7 separate regions of the Homo sapiens genome follow, and regions 2, 3, 4, 5, 6 and 7 are each linked to region 1. Evidence: promoter capture Hi-C in 16 types of primary human blood cells and fetal thymus (Javierre and others, 2016). All regions are on one chromosome and are shown on one strand. The core of a region is centred on a gene start or on the middle of the fragment in contact, and the rest is flanking DNA. Distances in the headings are between cores, read along the strand shown. Region 1 holds the start of SELENOS (selenoprotein S). Region 2 overlaps TARS3 (threonyl-tRNA synthetase 3). Region 3 has its middle 6.1 kb from the start of LINC02348. Region 4 overlaps ALDH1A3 (aldehyde dehydrogenase 1 family member A3). Region 5 overlaps LRRK1 (leucine rich repeat kinase 1). Region 6 has its middle 5.3 kb from the start of TARS3. Region 7 overlaps TARS3 (threonyl-tRNA synthetase 3).

Region 1 (2,700 bases), core at 146-2,645:
TATTTGTATTTTTAGTAGAGACAGGGTTTCACCATGTTGGCCAGGCTGTTCTCGAACCCCTGACCTCAAGTCATCCTCCTGCCTCGGCTTCCCAAAGTGCTGGGATTACAGGTGTGAGCCACCGCGCCCCACCGAGAACCATATACTTCCTACTTTTTTTTTTTTTTTTTTTTTAAAGACAAGGTCTCAATCAATTGCCCAGGCTGGAGTGTAGTGTGGCCCGAGCATAGCCCACTGCAGCTTTGACTCCCTGGACTCAAGTGATTATCCCGCCTCAGCCTCCTGAGCAGCTGGGACTACAGGTGCGTGCCGCCACTCCCGGCTATTTTTTTTTTTTTTAAATAGAGACAGGGTCTTCCTGTGTGGCCCCTCTTACTTTTACTAAGAGACTAACTCTTAATATAAAGGAGGTGCAAAACCACCGCTTTCATTTCGGTTATCAGGCACTAACCCACAGCAGCCGCAGCTCGGTCCAGCTGCCTCTGCCTCAAGGCTCTTAGCCGGGCGGAAAGCTTCTGAAAGACCACGTAGAGAAGGATGCAGCTGAAGACGATGTACCAGCCATAGGTGGCCAGCAGGGAGCCCACTGAAAAGAAAAACAGTTTTCAAAAAACTAAAAATGACACTACTAGTTGACCTTTCCATAAGACTCAACAAACACAAAGTGTAACTCCTGCCCTCAAAGCCTTCATGGTCTAGGCTGAGGAAAAAGCCTCCTAAGTAGATCGTTAAAACACGAACTCAAGAAGTGCGACAATTCAGGGATCACTGAGAAGTGAGACTTCCCAACCATCTGGGGAGTCGGGGGCAGTTAGAGTGTGGAGGGCACAGCAACTGGGTTTTGAAGAATGAAGAGCAACTAATCTGAATCAGGAAGGCAAAGGCCTTTCAGAGCCACATAGAAAGGGGTGACAGCGCGGGGAGTCAGGAGTGTGTATGGGGCTGTGTGGGACGGGTCCCAGAGGCAAACGCCAACGGCCGAGTGACCCCAGTAACTACCACAGGAAGGGCTTGGTTCGCAAAAAAGACTTGCGCAAACAAGGGACAGCCGAGCCGCCCAGGGAAGTGCGGCTCCCGAGAAGCCTCCGCGCAAGGTCCGGGCCTGCTGCCCAAGGTCCGCGTAAGCGCCAACGCCCGACCGTTCCCAGGCCTCCCAGGCTCCGGCGCCCGGTGCAGCGGCGGACGACCCACCCATCATGGCTGCGCGTCGCAAAAGTGGCGGCGCGCGCCCGGCTGCCCCGCAACGACTCACCCGTGGTGTGCAGGAAGCGCAGCCCCTCGGTCTCCAGGGCCGGCCGCGCGGACAGAGACTCCTCTTGGCGTTCCATGACCGCCGCCGCCGCCGCCGCCCAGCCCTGCCGCCGCGCCTCCAGCCGGGCGCTTCCGGTGCGCTCCTACGCACACGTGGCGCGCCCGGACGCGGTCGTGGTCCCGGCCAATCGCAGGCCGACCCCGCCCCGTCGCTGGGCCAAACGCAGGGGGGCGTGGCCGAGGGGCGTGGCGGGGGAGAAATCCCGGCTACGCTCGCCGGGGCCGGGACAGCGCGTGTGGGAACGTTCTGTGCTATCTCTTGGCTTGAGTCGGGGGTGGAGGACGGACCTCGTTCACGGATTTCTTACCGAATTTCTACTTTCTTTTTTTTTTCTAATTGGACACTGAAGCCAAGGAAGTCAGTGGTCGCCCGGAAGCAGGATTTGCACCCACATCCTTGCCCGGGGCACATTGGACAACAGGGCTCAGTTGGTTGACGACTCCCAGCATTTGAGGGTTGCAGCCAACGTCCACCCCAAGTGAAGACACGAAATGTGAGCAGCCTCCTGCTCCTGCTGCTGGTGATACCTTTCAGGCCAAGAAAGTCCCCACCGATCCTCAAGGTTCTTTCTCCAAAATCAAAGCCTTTTAGGAAAGAACGATCATAGTAACTGCTCTAACCTGTGTTGAATTATACTGTATCACCACAAGACACGATCACAGAGTTACTTATAATAGTGTCCTGGCTGTGTTCCTCTGCCTGCAACGCCGTCCCGCACCCTCTTCCACCACTCAAACGTCACCACCTTTATGGTGACCATAACCATCCTATTTGAAATGTGACCTTGGGTTTTTCTGGAGCATTTGAAGTGCACATACCTAGCTGTGTTTCAAAAGAAGGGTTGGGAATTGGGAATAGAACTGAAAAAATAATGAATAGGTGACAACATCCGAGTGCTGCGTCACCACTGTCGCCAGGAGCAGTGTGGGGAAGGCAAACCATGACATGAAGCGTGAACGCAATCAGTGTTTCTTCAATGCAGGTTTGCCAAGAAGTTCCTCAAGGGGGACAGCTGCAGGGATTTGAGCACTGACCTCATCAAGCTTTCCCAGCAGTGTGTTCAGAAAGCAATAAAGGGGACCTGGCATTCATGAGCCATAGCAAAGAGAAGCCTGAAAGCTCTTCTTCCCTGTTGGCCACCTTGAAAATGGACTCCTCAGATGAACCGAGGACTCTGGATGTTATCCATAAAGGCTGTGAAGATAGCTTATCGATTTAATGAGGAATTTTAGGAGGGAGAATTTCCTTCTTCATGTTTGCCTTTCCGTTGTAAAAGGTGATGAACCATCACCACTCTTTGCTTTGCTACAGATGATTTCTCACTTGCTCTGGCATCTTGCAGGAACATTTATGTGCTAAATTGAATGACTTCTATGGAATTAGTTGCA
Region 2 (2,700 bases), core at 56-2,555, 430 kb after region 1:
CGAGAATTGCTTGAATCCAGGAGGCGGAGGTTGCAGTGAGCCAAGATAGTAGTGAGCCAAGATAGTGCCACTGCACTCTAGCCTGGGAGGCAAAGAGAGACTCTGTCTGAAAAAAAAAAAAAAAAAAAAAAAAAAAACCCAAAAAATAAAAAACAAAATGTATGTTTTCTCCAATATGTATGTTTTAAAACATAAAATCAGGAATATATTTAAGTACGTTGGTCAAAAAAATATAAAGAGAAAGTTACTGTTTTACACAGGTTACTCTAGGTTAAAATCTGAAACAAAAGTTAACAGAAAACTCCCACAGAAAAGAGAAAAAGGCAGCATTTTATATGGGATTATAAATATTGTTGAATTTAGGTGACAGATATTCACAATACTCAGAATTAATCAGATTTATAAACACACATGTGAAAATTATTCACCTGGCCCTTTACCTACCTATGTCTCCCCTCAAATGTTCAGGAAATAGATGGGGAGGGAAATGTCACAGCAAGTAACTGGTAACAACCTCACAGTAGCTTAACAGGATTGGAATAATTTGGTGAGCAACAGGTAATTATTTGGGGGAAGGTGGGGAAGCTAGTCTATATTGATTTTTAATATTCCTAGTAAGAGGTTTAGGAGTTTCCCCAAGTTACCTTAAACATTTCCAGGAGGATTTCCTTGCTGACTTCTAGTCTTTCAAAAGGTTGCTTTTCTTTTATGATGGCTTTACATATATTCTCCAGGGCTGACAATTCTGTGCTGGACACTGCTCTAAAAAGAAGAGCAGAGAACCGACATCCATCTTCCAGACATTATGCATTCCCTCTTTCCTTTGTCCTGGAGCCTCAGCAGCCATAAATTTGAATCTGCTGTCTTATTGTTCCAGGACTTCAGAAAGTCAAACGTTCATACAGTCACTACTCTTGTGTCTCAGTGAGGGAGACTGGGCATCAACAGTTGCCAAGACCTGCCTCATTTCTCCTCTGCTGCAAGGGGAGAAGGAAGCCCTGCTAGGAGACACCCAGGTGGACTGTGAGCTCCTCTGAGGCCTGTTCTTTTGTGTGGTCTTCCTTACCCTTCACATGCTTTAGTTTTGCTCAAGAGCCAGATGCAGTGCTCATCACGTCCCTGCCCTCACTGGCTATGGAACCAAGGCTGGGAGACATCTGTATGGACTGCAGAGTCGCGGTGCTCCCAGCAGCACTCAGCCTCCGCTATGCATGGACTAACTTCCTTTCAGTCACCCCCTGGTCAGTGCTCACTCCCTCCTGCCACACTAGCTTCCTTGCCACTCCTCAAACAAGCCACACATATCCCCACACCAGGACAGTCCCACAGAGGCCTGGAACCTTCTCCCTGCAGATGTCATAAGTATCCCCATCCTCAGGGCTTGCTCCCTCCCTCCACTCCGGTCGGCTTCAATGCCACCTGCTCCTTCCTGCCCACCTGCCTGTCATGGCACACACCTCCTACACCTGGCTGATGTTCCTATAGTCATCACCACCCGGCAGCAGATGGCTGCTTGTGCATTTGCTGTCTTCCCCCAAACACTGTTAGCTCCATGAGGACAGACTGGTTCCTTCACTGCTGAATCACCAGCACCCAGCACAGAGCACACAGCAGGCAGCAAAAACATCTTGTTGAACGAATACTGGAGCCATGTTAACAAGAGATGAACGGGATGTGATACTGTGATACAGTAAGAAACACAAATTTGGTCTTCATCCAGATTTCTGGCACAGGGTTTTTAAAATCCTGAAATCTCTGGAGTGATACGAGTGTCTTTTGTGTGCTGATGAGATGACTGGTGGCTAGGTCCCCTAGGTAGCTTCAGAGCAGGAACTGGTCACCACAAAGACCAAGGCATGATTAAAGGGTTGGGACTTTCAGCACCCCCACCTGCCTCCTTAGGGGAAAGGAGAGGGGCTAGAGATTGGGTTATCACCAAAGGTCAATGATTTAATCAATTGTGCCTCTATAATGAAACCTCCATTAAAATCCCTAAACAACAAGATTCACAGAGCTTCCAGGTTGTTGAACACATCCAGGTGCTTGGGGCATGGCGCCCAGAGACACATGGCATCTCTGTGGTCCCTCCCACATACCTCACCATAAGCATCTTTCATCAGGCTGTTCATCTCTATCCTTTGTAACATCCATTATAATACACTGGTAAGGTAAGTAAAGTGCCTTCTTGAGTTCTGTGAGCCAGTCTAGCAAATTATTGAACCCAAGGATGGGGTCATGGGAACTCCCGATTTGTAGCCTGTAGGTCAAAAGTATGGAAGGCCCAGACTTCCAGCTGGCATCTGAATTGGGGCCAGTCTTGTGGGACTGAGCCCTTGACCTGGGGAATCTGCATTAACTCAGGGTAGATAGTGTCAGAATTGAGTTCAATCATTAGACACCTCATTGGTGTCCAGAGAGTTGGAGCACTGGCCATTGATTTGGGAAAAAACCCACACCTTTGAGATAAGAATTGTTGTAGGTAAACACAGTTTCATGCTTGTGAGTAATAGTGGTTCAGATTGGACAAGTCTGTAAGTAGTAGCTACACAGCATTGGGTGCTCGGTTGGGGAGGTCATTAAGCAGCGTGCAGGAGAAGGTAAAGACAAAATGCACCATAGTCATCCAGGCCAGAGATGCCATGGGGCTAACTTAAGGCAGAAACAAGAGAAGGAGAGGGGGGTGGGAGAACTATTTAGGAG
Region 3 (2,700 bases), core at 43-2,542, 340 kb after region 1:
CTAGGCCGGCAGGCAGAGGCCTTGCTGTGGCCATGCCCATCTTCTGCTTCCAGAGCAGTGGGGCTCTCCAGGGCACCTGTTTGTGTACCCACAGCCAACAGCTCTGGGCAGTTAGTGGGAAATTACAGCAACCAGTAAAGTCAGAAGCACTGAGGCTTTAGACTCACACACGTGCAGTATCTCCCCAGCCGCTAGCTAAAGACATTGACCTTTTTTGGTGATGGATGTTCTGGTGGTCTGGGGTTGGTGGGCTTCAACAAGTGGGGGTTTTAGCATGATTCAGCCAAGATCTCCAATCCTGCAGCCTGGGACCCTGACTTGGTAAAACGAACACATCTGACACCGCTTGAGTCGCCATCTATAGGAGGTAAGTGTGAGTCTGGGTTCCAAATATTTTATCAAGCCTGTCAGGGAAGCAAGCGCTGTCTGTCTGCAGGAAGATGTCTGTGGGGAGAGGGCAGATCTGAGTCCAGTGAGTCTCTCCTGCAGCCAGCCTCCAGGTCCACCCTCCCCCAACAGATGTCCTCTCGCAAATGAAAAACACTCAAGACGTGGAAAGCAGACAGATGGCAGGAGGGTCCTTAGCCCGGACTGATGACAGCCGGCTCTGGGCCAGGTTCTGGACAGGATTGTGGGCACACGGTCCCGACCCACCACTGCAGTTCTTGTGGGATGGTCTTGGTCCACATGCGAGCCCCTCTCAGGCCAAACACCTGCTTACTCCATATTTTCATGTAATTCTAATTCATGTAAATGATGTTATTTCATCAAGGACAATTGAAGTTATGGTTGGCCACTTTGGGTAACTTATTTTTTATTTTTTTAAATTTTTTTTGAGATGGAGACTCACTCTGACCCCCAGACTGGAGCGCAGTGGTGTGATATCGGCTCGCTGCAACCTCCGCCTCCCGGGTTCAAGCAATTCTCCTGCCTCAGGCTCCCCAGTAGCTGTGATTATAGGTGCCCACCATCATGCCTGGCTAATTTTTGTATTTTTAGTAGAGACGGGGTTTCACCATGTTGGCCAGGCAGGTCTCGAACTCCTGACCTCAGGTGATCTGCCTGCCTTGGCCTCCCAAAATGTTGAGATTACAGGTGTGAGCCACCACGTCCAGCCACTTTGGGTAACTTTTAACATAGACAAAATAGTTATTTTGAGAGGCATCCTAAAACAAATAGAAAAAAAAAATCCTGACTATCCAATGGCCTGCATTCTTTAGTTGGCATAAGGAGACTTCTAAACTCAATTCAGATTCTAAAATTATCTACCTAAGTTATTCTACTCAGGTCAGAAAAAATGTCAGTGATAAACTGAGACTTGTGCCGCGCATTTATATTCTAGGCTTTTCTGACTTCCTCTGACCAATCATTTCCCAGGAGGTGCGAAGCCTTGCTGGATAAAAGGTAAGCGGCGTGACCCTGAAAAGGACACAGGGTTAACACATCCTCGAAAACACAAACACACAAACAACAAAATAGAAACTCTTTTGACAGGAACACTTGGCAATAGTGCGAACAAAAGAATAACTGGAAAGTAATATCCCACCTAATTACAGAAAAAAAGAACTAGTGAGTTCTGAGGGATTGTGAAGGAAGACTCCAGCCAGCCCCTCTCACCTTCTTTTCCCCTGCTCTTCCTCCAGCTCTTGAAAGACTCTGGAGGTTAATTATAGCAACTGGTATTTTCTAAAAATGGCCTCTGTGTGGTTTCTAGTTTCATTGCTTTTTCTGAATCTTCCTGCCCTCCTGCCCCCCCCAGTCAGAGCAGGAGTTCACGTGTGCTCCCCTTGGCTTCGGGTGGATCTTTGTAGCTCACTCAATTAATGGGCTGTGGTACGTGTACCGCAGCTTGGCTTCTGGAGCTGGGTTAGAACAGCCGACACAGCTTCCGCGTGGCCAGCCAGCATGCCGGAAGGGAGCCCAAACCAGACCCTGCGGGGAGACCACACGGAGAAGCCCCTGTGGAGAGGATCCCCAGGCAGATGACTAAGGAGCCTGTGGGTGATTCCAGCCCCCATCCTCGGAGTCTCCCAGCTGCGGCCCCAGGCATCACAGAACAGAGACAAACCATTCTGCTGTGCCTGTCCAAATGTCTGATGCACAATATCTGTGAAAATGTGTGACTGTTTTACACCACTGAGCTTTGAGGTAATTTGTTACACCGCCATAAAAAATCAGAACATCAAGTAATGACACAAATGTTCCATCATGATGTGCATACTCTAGAACTAACTAGCACAGATAAACAGATACCCCACAAAAGAAAAGTAATACATATTACAAGGTCTATTAAAATCCATGGGAGATGCTGTCCTAATTGGTTACAGAGAGCTTATATAAATTTAAAATAAAACAATGCAAGAGTTTCCAGAAGATAGAGAAAAATGTTAACCTTCTCGTTATGTGTTGATTCATTTTATTTTCAAAGGAAAAAAGTTTAACTGTGACTTTCATTAATAACTTTGGTTACTAGGTTACAAAAAAAAGACTATTCACAGCTTTTAAACATGGCTGGAAATGCTTTAAAAATCATTCTATAAATACAGAAGAATGTATTTAAAAGTTCATATAATGTTCTTGATAGATGGCTTTGTAGACAAACTAGAGTGAGATGGTGATTTTGAAACATCTCGTTTTAAAACATCTCATTGCTGCTTCCATGTGGGATGTAGAAAGCTGCAAAGAATAATAAAAAAACCT
Region 4 (2,700 bases), core at 169-2,668, 370 kb before region 1:
GAGGAAGCTTTAAATGACAGGTTCTCCAGTCTAGGTGGCAGTGAGTGTCTGTGCATGACATCAGGCTGTCCTGTGGGGATGCCCTGGCTGGGGAAGAAGGGAGGGCCTCATGGAGGAAGGATGCATTTCTGGCCATCAGTGCCCACCCTCCACTGGCCCCAGTCCACACACTCCGACGCCACGTGACCCTGGCAGAAAGCACTTCTTGTGGCTAACATTCCTTCTCCTCAGTCATTGCCTGCCCAGCCTGTGCCCCAAACCCAGCGGTCAGTGACACAAGGTTGTCTAATGGCCTCGGCTGGATTTCAGATCTGAACGCAAACATGACCACAAGTCATTATTGAATCCGCCGTGAGTTTTAAAGCTAATCCACAATCAGTGGGAAATATGTGAACTGATCCCCATACAGAAGAAACTTTTTTACCCCGTCGTTATTTGTAAGTCTCTTTCTGTGGCTCTTTTCTTGGCTTATGCCTGATGTCTGAGTCTTGACTTTTGAGGCCAGATACACCGATTTCTTCCAAGAGAACAGATAGAGGCAGAATGGGTGCTGATTTCATCAGTGCATTTATGCCACCGCTCAAAGTCCTTCTGAAAGCTCACTAAAGCCGTCTAACCTCAGCATATTATTTTAGAATGCTGTTGGGGTTTCTTTTTCTTCCAAAGTGCTTTTTCATCTACGGTAATAAGATTTTACTCTGAGAGGACTTACAGCTGTCTAAATAGTCCTGTCTGTCTCATGCCTGTAAAACAGCTAGCTGACCTAGATCCGGGTCCACGGCCGGGCTAGCGCTCACAGGAATGCTCCAAAATCATTCAGGTTTATTTGGCAACTGAGCAACGAGGCACATAAACATTATGCAGGCCACCTGGCCGGGCAGGATCCGGCAGCGTCCTCCGGGCAGAGAGCCGAGCACAGCCTTGAGCCAGTCCTGTGGGGGCCGTATTTCCCTGTTTCTGGTGTTGTGCCCTGCTGCGTCATCTCACTTCCTGGCAGGTCTCTCTTCCTGTACTGTAAGGCACCAGCTGACATTTCATGGAGGATTATTAGATTTAAACAATGTGTTCCTACGGGCTCTCCAGGGAGTGTGGAGTTTGGATGTGTAGGTTTTCCACGGGGACCCAGCACTGCCTGCAGGACAAACAGGGTCTGCCAGATGGCATATGCCCAGCAGCCAGGGAGGACCTGCGGTTGGGCGAAGCCCCTGTGTCCCTTTTGGCCCCTCAGGGAGGGGAAGAGCAGCTCAGCAGCATCTGGAACTGTTAACCTGAGACTTGGTTCACCCAGAGAGAAGTTGAGAGAACCTTGAGCTCTTCCGGGATCTGTTGCAAAGCTGTTTTTGTTACTTTTTTTGAGTGGAGTACACATACACGGGTCAAACCCCAAAACGCCTAAAAACGTCTATAGTGAAAGGATTCCCGCCCCTCCCGCCCCCACCTTTGTACACCTGGTTCTTACCCTTCTCCCCACGGTATCCCCAGTTCTTAGTTCCTCATGTTTCCCTCTAGAATGTTTTCGTGTGCATGCAAGCAGATGAATGCAAGTCCTGATTGCCTTTGTTATTTTTACACGGAAGTTTCCATGATAGTATATCATCTTGCACTTTGTTTATTGTTCCCTAAAAAAACTGGAAGAGCTCTTTATACCAGTCCATGGGAACCTGCCTGATTCTTTTTCACATGTGTATGGAATTCTGCTGGATGAAGCCACCAGAATTTCAGTAACATCTTCTGATTAGCATGCAGGTATGTGCAGTCACACACAAGGCCTCAGAGTATGTGATTTCACACACACACAAGGAAATCCCTGGGACAGCTTTCCCAAAGTGGGTTGCTAAGTGGGAACACATTTCTAATTTCCTTAAGTGTTGCTGAATTACCTTCCATAGAGGCTGAACCAACGTGTATTCCTACTAACATTCTAGAAGTTTGTCTGTTTCTTTACCCTTTCCAACAGAATATGGATTTTTGCCCATAGGAGAGTTAAAAATGCTATCTTGTTTCATTTTAATATGCATCTACCGCTTATAATAAGCAAGGTAGAACATCTTATTATATATTTAAAAACCGTTTGTATTTCCTTTATTATCAAATGTGCTTTGCGTATTTTTCTTGCAAGCTGTTAGGCATTTTTCTTATCACTTCTAAGACCTCTTTACATACATAGTAGAGAGATTAGCTTTCTATGAATATGACTTGTTAATATTTTTTCCAAGTTTGTTGTTTTGCTCTTTGTTATGATAATTTTGCCCCCACCCCATTTTTTTTACATACTCAAAATTATACATCTTTTCTTTTTTGGCTTCTGCATTTTGAGTCATTAGAAGGCACTCCAAGTTTGCAGGATAAGTCTCCCACATATAAAACTTTTATGGTTTTGTTTTTCCTGGTTATATCTTTGATCTATTTGGAGTTTGGCCTGGTATAAAGTGTGAGGTATGGATCTGAGTTAGTATTTTTAAACTGGGTTTGGAGTTTGGCCTGGTATAAGGTGTGAGGTATGGATCTGAGTTAGTATTTTTAAACTGGGTTTGGAGTTTGGCCTGGTATAAGGTGTGAGGTATGGATCTGAGTCAGTATTTTTAAACTGGGTTTGGAGTTTGGCCTGGTATAAAGTGTGAGGTATGGATCTGAGTTAGTATTTTTAAACTGGGTCCATATTTCATGAGATGATTGGTCAAGTGGCATGCACGGTTTATG
Region 5 (2,700 bases), core at 79-2,578, 350 kb before region 1:
CTCTAGAGTCTTGCTCTGTCACCCAGGTTGGAGTGCAGTGGTGCAATCTTGGCTCACTGCAACCTCCACCTCCCCCAGTTTAAGTGATTCTCATGCCTCGGCCTCCCAAGTAGCTGGGATTACAGGCGCCCACCAGCATGCCCAGCTAATTTTTGTAATTTTAGTAGAGATGGGTTTTTACCATATTGGCCAGGGTGATCTCGAACTCCTGACCTCAAGTGATCCACTCTCCTCGGCCTCCCAAAGAGCTGGGATTACAAGCGTGAACCACCGCACCCATCTATTTTCTTTTCCATTAAATGTTTAGGTTTATTCATTAATGCAGGTATAAATAGTTGGCAAAAGGAAATTGATGAGGTTTTGAAAAATCATTTAAACCATCATTACTGCTGAAAACCTCTTGATGCCCTCTTTAGGGTGTATAATGAAGACATGTAACTTGTAATCATCACTTGTTGGCACCTCTCTGGACCCAAAAGAAGCAGGAGGAAGCAAAGATCCGTTTGAGGGCAAAGATTGAGCAAAATTTGAATTACCTCATCTTAAAACTTCTACCTTAGAATATAAGCCAAAATAGTAACTAGAATTTTAAAACTGCTCCAGGGGCAGAGTCTTCCACTGGTAAAGTGATTTTCAAAAGGAAACTGAAAATGAAAAGGGGAACAAAATGTGCTGGGTGAGGGTTAGCCTGAAATAATTTTAAGATTTTTTTTTTTTTAGAACTTAAAAACATTGTATGGTAAGACACTTCTGTTTTCAGGAAGAATGTCTAGCGTTTGGATTTTTGAAATGCTGTTGGTTATGTGCGGTAGCTGTTTTGGAGAGGTGTCTGAAAGCAGATGGCAACTGTGCTTCTCAGTTTCTGGATGTGAATGTGTGATCGGAACGTTTATTTTAAAACAGATTCTGTCTTGCTGGCTCTTCCTCTCTCTGTCACAAGTTGATTTTCCAAATCAGGTTTTGCTATTTATAAGGCTTTCATCATCCCCTAAATTTTGCCCAGATTGATCGTTTTTCCTTTCCTCCTTCGACTTTTCAGGCTTCCCAACTTCAAACACAGGTGTTTCCCACACGTGGTTTGTGTCGACCATCCCTTTTGCCTCTGAAACATGTGCAGCTTGCACAAGGCTGCTGGAGCCTGGCTTTTCTAGCTCCACCTTTCCCTGCCTTGACGAGTCCAGTCCACCTGGGCCAGGTGCCTGAGTTCTAGGCTTTTAGGTGAGAAATTCCCACAGCCTTGTCCTGTACCTTACTTCGTGCCCCTACTGCTCACGGCATCTTCTAGAACCTACCCGCTGGTGAGGCTGGCATCTGCCCTCCAGCATTGATATTCTGATCTTATTAATTAGCAGGGAAGTGGGAGACCCGCTGGCCTCCAAGTCTGTGCGCTGGTACTACAGGTAATGACCACCCCAGCCCTGTCGTAGAGAGAGGCTGCAGAAACTTCACTTTGGTTGAATTCACACAGTAACCCCACTAGCAGGCCCGGGCATAAGGGTGGATGTCTATTTTTAACAGGTGAAAACTGAGACACACATACCTTTCAGCTGGGAGTCACACTGCGAACATGTGACACAGGCAGTCCACACCTTTAACGTCCACGCTATGCTTTTGCCTGTACAGATTCTCTTAGGCATTATTTTTATATAACCTTGATTTAAAAAATATATTTTTGGCTGCACTATCACTCCCCATTTCAGAGTTGTCTATCTGAGAGAACACAGACAAGAGGTGCTAATTACCTCGTACTTCATCACATGTAGGATATGCTATAAGAACAAGGATAGGCGCACATGCATTACTTATGGTAGTACCTCATGTCAGGCCTGAGCTAGGCATGGGTCTTACCCTCCCTCTGGTCCTTCAATCACCATACCAGGATGGGCACTTATGCCCATGGGGGGACTCTAAGCTCAGTGGGGGCCCAGCATAGAAGAGCAGCACTTGGTCTCAGTTTATCATAGTCATTAGTTTCAGAGATTAGTCTAACTCCACCCTGGAACTTTTGGGGCCAGATAATTCTTTGTTGCAAATAGCAGTCCTGTACATTGTAGGATGTTTAGCAGCATCATTGACCTCTACCCATTAGAGGCCTGTAGCACTCTCCCCCAGCCAAGTTGTGGCAACCAAAAATGTCTCCAGACATTGCCAAATGTCCCCTGGGAAAGGGGCAGAATTTTTGAGGCTCATGTCTGCTAACCTCCGTCATTTAGCTTTCTGCTAAAGCTCATGCTAACTTGACTTCATAACCAGTAATAATTCCATGTCTTTGGAACTGTTGCCTGACCACCCCCTTGGGATGACGTGCTCACCTCTGGCTTCCAGAAGAACTGGCCCCGGGCAAAAGGAGAGCCTTGTATCGTGACTAACCTTAACTATGTCTGCCCTACCCCCACTGGAGTGTGCCCCTGAGGGCAAGAGCCTCCTTGAGCCATCTTGGTGCCACTGAGCCTCACACAGAGCCTGGCTACCTTGCATGTGACAGTAGGTGTGCGTTGACTGAACAATGATTGAAGCTGTTACCAGTATGTGTTTTCCAATTGTCTGGGGTTTGTTTGAGACTCTTCTCAGGTAGACAATACCTGAGCCCCGCATCAAGATGGGATGGGGGGAGCTGTGCCTTCCCACTGACCACACCTGATGGGTTTGGCTGGATAGATGGACTACAAAAAGGAATGTTGCAGAGGGAAAACTAAATGA
Region 6 (2,700 bases), core at 147-2,646, 450 kb after region 1:
AGTCCCATCTCTACTAAAAGTACAAAAAATTAGCTGGGTGTGGTGGCGCATGCCTGTAATCCCAGCTACTTGGGAGGCTGAGGCAGGAGAATTGCTGGAACCTAGGAGGTGGAGTTTGTGGTGAGCTGAGATCATGCCATCGCACTCCAGCTTGGGCAACAACAGCAAAACTCCATCTCAAAAAAAAAAAAAAAAAGGAAAATAACAAACCACTCTCTGAGTACATTCAAGTGCCCCCACAAAAAAGTAAGGATGTAAAAGACCCAAACAATATAATTAAAAAGTAGATATTTTGAATATATTCACATTATCAATATGTATATATAAATATCTATCTATATAAACTATACCCTGAAAATGGAAGATGCACCTTCCTCTTAAACAAATGTATAGATTCTTCATATAAATTAATCATTTGTAGAGCTCAAGAAAGACCTCAGTAGGTTTCATAAAGTAGAAATATTAGGTACAACACTCTCAGCCCCCAATGCAATAAAATTAGAAATTAAAAATAAAACAACAACAAAAAGCCTTTTCACATGGAAATTTTAAAACTCTTAAGCATCTCTTTATTGAAAGGAGAAATGAAAAAGGAAAGTACAGACTTTCTTTAAAATAGTGATAATGAAAATACTACAAATCTATGCAATACACAGATCAGTAATCAGAAAAAAATCATAACTCTAACACCTATATTGATAAAAACAAAAGAATGGAAATAAATTCTCAATTGAAAAATTGAGAAAAATGACAGCAAAATAAAGCAATGACAAAGTTCTAATAACACTAAATATACATTTCTTTTTCAACCCAGCAATCCCACTTCTAGAAATTTATTCTGAAGATACAAGAAGGCAAAAATGCATATGCACACAAATTCAACGGAAGAGTTGTGATTGTAAAGTACCTCATAGGAGATTGGTTCAATAAGCTATAGTACACACAAAAAATGGAGCACTATGAAGCTGTTAAAAAAATAATTAAGAGGATCTCTGAACTGATATGGAACGATTTCCAGGAGATTTTATGAAGCAAAAAAAGTAATGTTCAGGCTGGGCACAGTGGCTCACGCAAGTAATCCCAGCACTTTGAGAGGCCAAGGCAGGCAGATCACAAGGTCAAGAGATTGGGACCATCCTGGCCAACATGGTGAAACCCTGTCTCTGCTAAAAATACAAAAATTAGCTGGGCGTGGTGGTGCACGCCTATAGTCCCAGCTATGCAGGAGACTGAGGCAGGAGAATCTCTTGAACCAGGGAGGTGGAGGTTGGAGTGAGCCAAGATCACGCCACTGCACTCCAGCCTGGCAACAGAGTAAGACTCCGTCAAAACAAACAAACAAACAAAAAAAAAACAGTAATGTACACATGTAGTATGTTACATGTTGTATAAGAAAAAAGAGAAAATGAAAACATGCATATATCTGCTTATCATCACAAAAAGAAACAGAAAATAAACTAGAAAACAATGAATTTGGTTATCTACAAGTAGATAACCAAGAGATAAAGGTCCCGACCTCTAATACCTTTCCTCATTAAAGGGTTCCTGGCAGAAAGGCCTATTCCAGAGCTGGGACATTGACTTAGTCCATTTATGTTGCTACAAGGAAATACCTGAGGCTGGATAATTTACAAAGAAAAGAGGTATATTTGGCTCACACTTCTGCAGGCTGTACAAGAAGCATGGTGCCAGCATCTGCATCTGGTGAGGGTTTCAGGAATCTTCCACTCATGGCAGAAGGCAAAGGGGAGCCCACATGTACAAAAGTCACATGACAGGAAAGCAGAAGCAAGAGAGAGGGGAGAGATGTGAGGCTCTTTTAAATAATTAGTTCTCACAGGTGCTAAGAGTGAGGACTCAATCATTACTGTGAGGACAGCACCAAGCCATTCATAAGGCATCTGTCGAGGACGGCACCAAGCCATTCATAAGGGATCTGTCGAGGATGGCACCAAGCCATTCATAAGGGATCTGTCCAGGACGGCACCAAGCCATTCATAAGGGATCTGTCCAGGACGGCACCAAGCCATTCATAAGGGATCTGTCCAGGACGGCACCAAGCCATTCATAAGGGATCTGTCCAGGACGGCACCAAGCCATTCATAAGGGATCTGTCCAGGACGGCACCAAGCCATTCATAAGGGATCTGTCGAGGACGGCACCAAGCCATTCATAAGGGATCTGTCGAGGACGGCACCAAGCCATTCATAAGGGATCTGTCCTCATGAACCAGACACCTCCCACTAGGCCCCACCTGCAACACTGGGGGTGAAATTTCAACATGAGACTTGGAGGGGACAGATATCCAAATGATATCAGACATGTAAGTTCAAGATAAGCGTAGAGCACTTTGTTTTGCTGGAAATTAACAAAGCGCTCTCCACAAAAATGATGGGAACATGATACAAGGGCACAGGAACCAGCTTGAAGGGATCCCACCAGCCAAACCAATTGAACTTCAAAAATAATTAAGTAATGAATTGTAAACCATTAAAAAATATGGGAACTCACAAGTCCAACCAATAATAGAAAAAAATGGGAAAGAAGCCAGAGCTCAGTTTATAGTCTATGCCATGGACTAAATGGCAAACACAGGTAAATGGGAAATTAGAAAACCATCACTTTGCCACCTTCATAGTAAGGACTGGATCAGACAAGAATCATCATGCTCAATCTAGGGGGCAGTGCTGAAAAGCAGCA
Region 7 (2,700 bases), core at 28-2,527, 400 kb after region 1:
GAGCAAGATGACAGTGGCTTAAACCAGAGAGAGGCAGCTGAAATGCAGGGAATTTGATGGATTTGAGACATCAAGTCTTTCATTCATTAACTGCAATGGCTAGTTTTTTGTTTTGTTTTGTTTTTTGAGACAGTCTTGCTCTGTCACCCAGGCTGGAATGCAGTGGTGTGGTCTTGGCTCACTGCAACCTCTGCCTCTCGGGTTCAAGCGGTTCTCATGCCTCAGGCTCCCGAGTAGCTGGAACTACAGGTGCTCGCCACCATGCTCGGCTAATTTTTGTATTTTTTTTTTTTTAGTAGAGAAGGGGTTTCGCCATGTTGGCCAGGCTGGTCTCGAACTCCTGGCCTCAAGTGACCCACCTGCCTCAGCCTCCCAAAGTGCTGGGATTATAGGCATGAGCCACTACACCCTTTTTTTTTTTTTTTTAAGTTCCTGGGTGCACGTGCAGGATGTGTAGTTTGTTACATAGGTATATGTGTGCCATGGTGGTTTGCTCCACCTATGAACCCGTCACCTAAGTATTTAAGCCCAGAATGCATTAGCTATTTATCCTGATGCTCTCCCTCCCTCCTCTTCCCTCCGACAGGCCCCAGTGTGTGTTGTTCCCCTCCCTGTGTCCATCTGTTCTCATTGTTCAGTTCCCACTTATAAGTGAGAACATATGGAGTTTGGTTTTCTATTCCTGTGTTAGTTTGCTGAGGATAATGGCTTGTGATGGCTACTTTTAAGTGTTAACTCGACTGAGCTAAAAGATGCCAGACAGCTGGCCACCCTTACAACATTTATTTCTGGGAATGCCTGTGAGTGCGTTTCTCGAAGAGATGAGCATCTGAATCAGTGGAATTGGTAAACAACTTCCACCCTCACCAATGTGGGTGGGCCTCATCCAATCTGTTGAGGGCAGGAATAGAACTCAAAGGCAGAGGAAAGGCAAATTCTCTCTCTTTTTGAGTTGGGACATTTATTTTCTCCTGTTCTCAGACACTGGAGCTCCTGGTTCTCAGGCCCACCAACTCTGGGACTTACACCAGCTCCCTCCTTTGCTCACCCCACTGAGGCTTTTGGCCTTAGACTGGGAGTTATACCATCAGCTTTCCTAGTTCTCCAGCTTTTTTTTTTTTTTGAGACGGAGTTTTGCTCTTGTTGCCCAGGCTGCAGTGCAATGGCACAGTCTCAGCTCACCACAACCTCCACCTCCCGGGTTCAAGCAATTCTCCTGTCTCAGCCTCCTGAGTAGCTGGGATTACAGGCACATGCCACCACGCCTGGCTAATTTTGTATTTTTAGTAGAGACAGGGTTTCTCCATGTTAGTCAGTCTAGTCTCGAACTCCCAACCTCAGGTGATCCACCCACCTCAGCCTCCCAAAGTGCTGGGATTACAGGCACGTGCCACCAAGCCTGGCTAATTTTGTATTTTTAGTAGAGACAGGGTTTCTCCATGTTAGTCAGTCTGGTCTCGAACTCCCAACCTCAGGTGATCCACCCACCTCAGCCTCCCAAAGTGCTGGGACTACAGGTGTGTGCTACCATGCCTGGCCTTTCTCCAGCTTTTAATTGGCATATCATGGGACTTCTTTTTTTTTGGGGGTCATTTTTTTTTTTTTTTTGAGATGGAGTATCACTGTCACCCAGGCTGGAGTGCAGTGGCATGATCTCGGCTCACTGCAACCTCTGCCTCCCAAGTTCAAGCGATTCTCTTGCCTCAGCATCCTGATAGCTGGGATTACAGGTGTGTGCCACCACACCCAGCTAATTTATGTATTTTTAGTAGAGATGGGGTTTCACCATGTTGGTCAGGCTGGTCTTGAACTCCTGACCTCATGATCTGCCTGCCTCAGCCTCCCAAAGTGCTGGAATTACAGGCATGAGCCACCTCACCCAGCCTGGGTCATATTTTTTAATCTACTATGTCAATCTCTTTTAATTGGTTTATTTAGACCATTTACACTTAATATGTTAGGGCTTTACACTGCCTTTTTGTTTCCTTCTTGTTCTCTCTTGTTATTCATTTCTGTTTTATTTTTCCTGTCTTCCTATGGATTACTTTAACATTTTTCTGGAATTCAATTCCAATTTATCTATAGGTTCTCTTAGTGTATCCCTGTCTATAGCTTTTTTTTTTATTGGTTTCTCTAGGTATTATATAACTTATCAGTCCAGATATTGTCACTTTACCAGCTCAGGTGAAGTACAAAAACTTTTATTCCCTATACCTTACCCCATTTATAGTATAATTTTCTTAAACATTTCTTCTACATACATTTAGAACATCAGAAAGAACATGTGATTTTTACTTCAATGATCAAACATAATTTAGAAAACGCAAAAGGAGAAGGAAAATATATTGTATTTACCTGTTTTTATTTTCACAATCTTTTTCTTCCTAAAGTTCCCTGATTCCTCTTTTCATCATTTCCTTTCTGTTTAGAAAACTTCCTACAGCCATTCTTTTGGTGGGTCCAATGTCTTGATTTCCCCTCAATTGCTGAAGGGTATTTTCTTTAGACATAGAATTCTGGGTTGAAAATTCCTTTTTCTTTTTTCAGCACTTTAAAAGTATTGTGCCACTTCCTTCTGGCCTCCAGGATTTTTGTTTTTTGTTTTTTAATGAGAAATTGCTATCATTCAAATTGTTTTTCTCTTTAAAGGTAATGCATAATTTCTCTCTCATTGCTTTCAAGCCTTTCCTTTGTCTTTAG

What was found. Contacts are between HindIII fragments. The CHiCAGO score rates a contact against its expected background, and 5 or more counts as called.
Region 2: a fragment that was not itself captured here is called in contact with the fragment with the promoter of SELENOS in region 1 in 5 of 17 cell types (total CD8 T cells, M0 macrophages, monocytes and 2 more); the score reaches 7.4 in total CD8 T cells.
Region 3: a contact is called between a fragment that was not itself captured here and the fragment with the promoter of SELENOS in region 1, in 3 of 17 cell types (megakaryocytes, M1 macrophages and M0 macrophages). The highest score is 11.1, in megakaryocytes.
Region 4: a contact is called between a fragment that was not itself captured here and the fragment with the promoter of SELENOS in region 1, in 2 of 17 cell types (M0 macrophages and M2 macrophages). The highest score is 9.2, in M0 macrophages.
Region 5: a contact is called between a fragment that was not itself captured here and the fragment with the promoter of SELENOS in region 1, in 9 of 17 cell types (M0 macrophages, total B cells, M2 macrophages and 6 more). The highest score is 10.4, in M0 macrophages.
Region 6: a fragment that was not itself captured here is called in contact with the fragment with the promoter of SELENOS in region 1 in 15 of 17 cell types (neutrophils, monocytes, naive B cells and 12 more); the score reaches 12.3 in neutrophils.
Region 7: a fragment that was not itself captured here is called in contact with the fragment with the promoter of SELENOS in region 1 in 7 of 17 cell types (megakaryocytes, M0 macrophages, naive CD4 T cells and 4 more); the score reaches 9.6 in megakaryocytes.

What each region holds. Positions count from the first base shown.
Region 1 is chr15:101,276,090-101,278,789 of GRCh38, forward strand. SELENOS (selenoprotein S) reads right to left here and starts at 1,396. Exons shown (of 6, transcript NM_018445.6): 1 at 1,253-1,396; 2 at 452-586. The coding sequence starts at 1,328. RefSeq lists a silencer at 1,272-1,601. The HindIII fragment of the contact is 1,843 bases long and covers 511-2,353 here.
Region 2 is chr15:101,708,149-101,710,848 of GRCh38, forward strand. It overlaps TARS3 (threonyl-tRNA synthetase 3), which reads right to left. Exons shown (of 19, transcript NM_152334.3): 6 at 645-762. Among named protein-coding and RNA genes, the nearest start is that of TARS3, 15 kb to the right of the region's middle. The HindIII fragment of the contact is 3,396 bases long and covers 1-2,700 here.
Region 3 is chr15:101,619,080-101,621,779 of GRCh38, forward strand. No RefSeq gene overlaps it. Among named protein-coding and RNA genes, the nearest start is that of LINC02348, 6.1 kb to the left of the region's middle. The HindIII fragment of the contact is 6,686 bases long and covers 1-2,700 here.
Region 4 is chr15:100,901,723-100,904,422 of GRCh38, forward strand. All of the region lies in intron 9 of ALDH1A3 (aldehyde dehydrogenase 1 family member A3), which reads left to right. All of the region lies in intron 1 of ALDH1A3-AS1 (ALDH1A3 antisense RNA 1), which reads right to left. Among named protein-coding and RNA genes, the nearest start is that of ALDH1A3-AS1, 16 kb to the right of the region's middle. The HindIII fragment of the contact is 2,827 bases long and covers 6-2,700 here.
Region 5 is chr15:100,921,736-100,924,435 of GRCh38, forward strand. All of the region lies in intron 1 of LRRK1 (leucine rich repeat kinase 1), which reads left to right. Among named protein-coding and RNA genes, the nearest start is that of LRRK1, 3.7 kb to the left of the region's middle. RefSeq lists an enhancer at 2,424-2,700. The HindIII fragment of the contact is 2,910 bases long and covers 1-2,700 here.
Region 6 is chr15:101,728,421-101,731,120 of GRCh38, forward strand. No RefSeq gene overlaps it. Among named protein-coding and RNA genes, the nearest start is that of TARS3, 5.3 kb to the left of the region's middle. The HindIII fragment of the contact is 3,967 bases long and covers 1-2,700 here.
Region 7 is chr15:101,676,393-101,679,092 of GRCh38, forward strand. All of the region lies in intron 12 of TARS3 (threonyl-tRNA synthetase 3), which reads right to left. Among named protein-coding and RNA genes, the nearest start is that of TM2D3, 25 kb to the left of the region's middle. RefSeq lists an enhancer at 1-202. The HindIII fragment of the contact is 5,094 bases long and covers 1-2,700 here.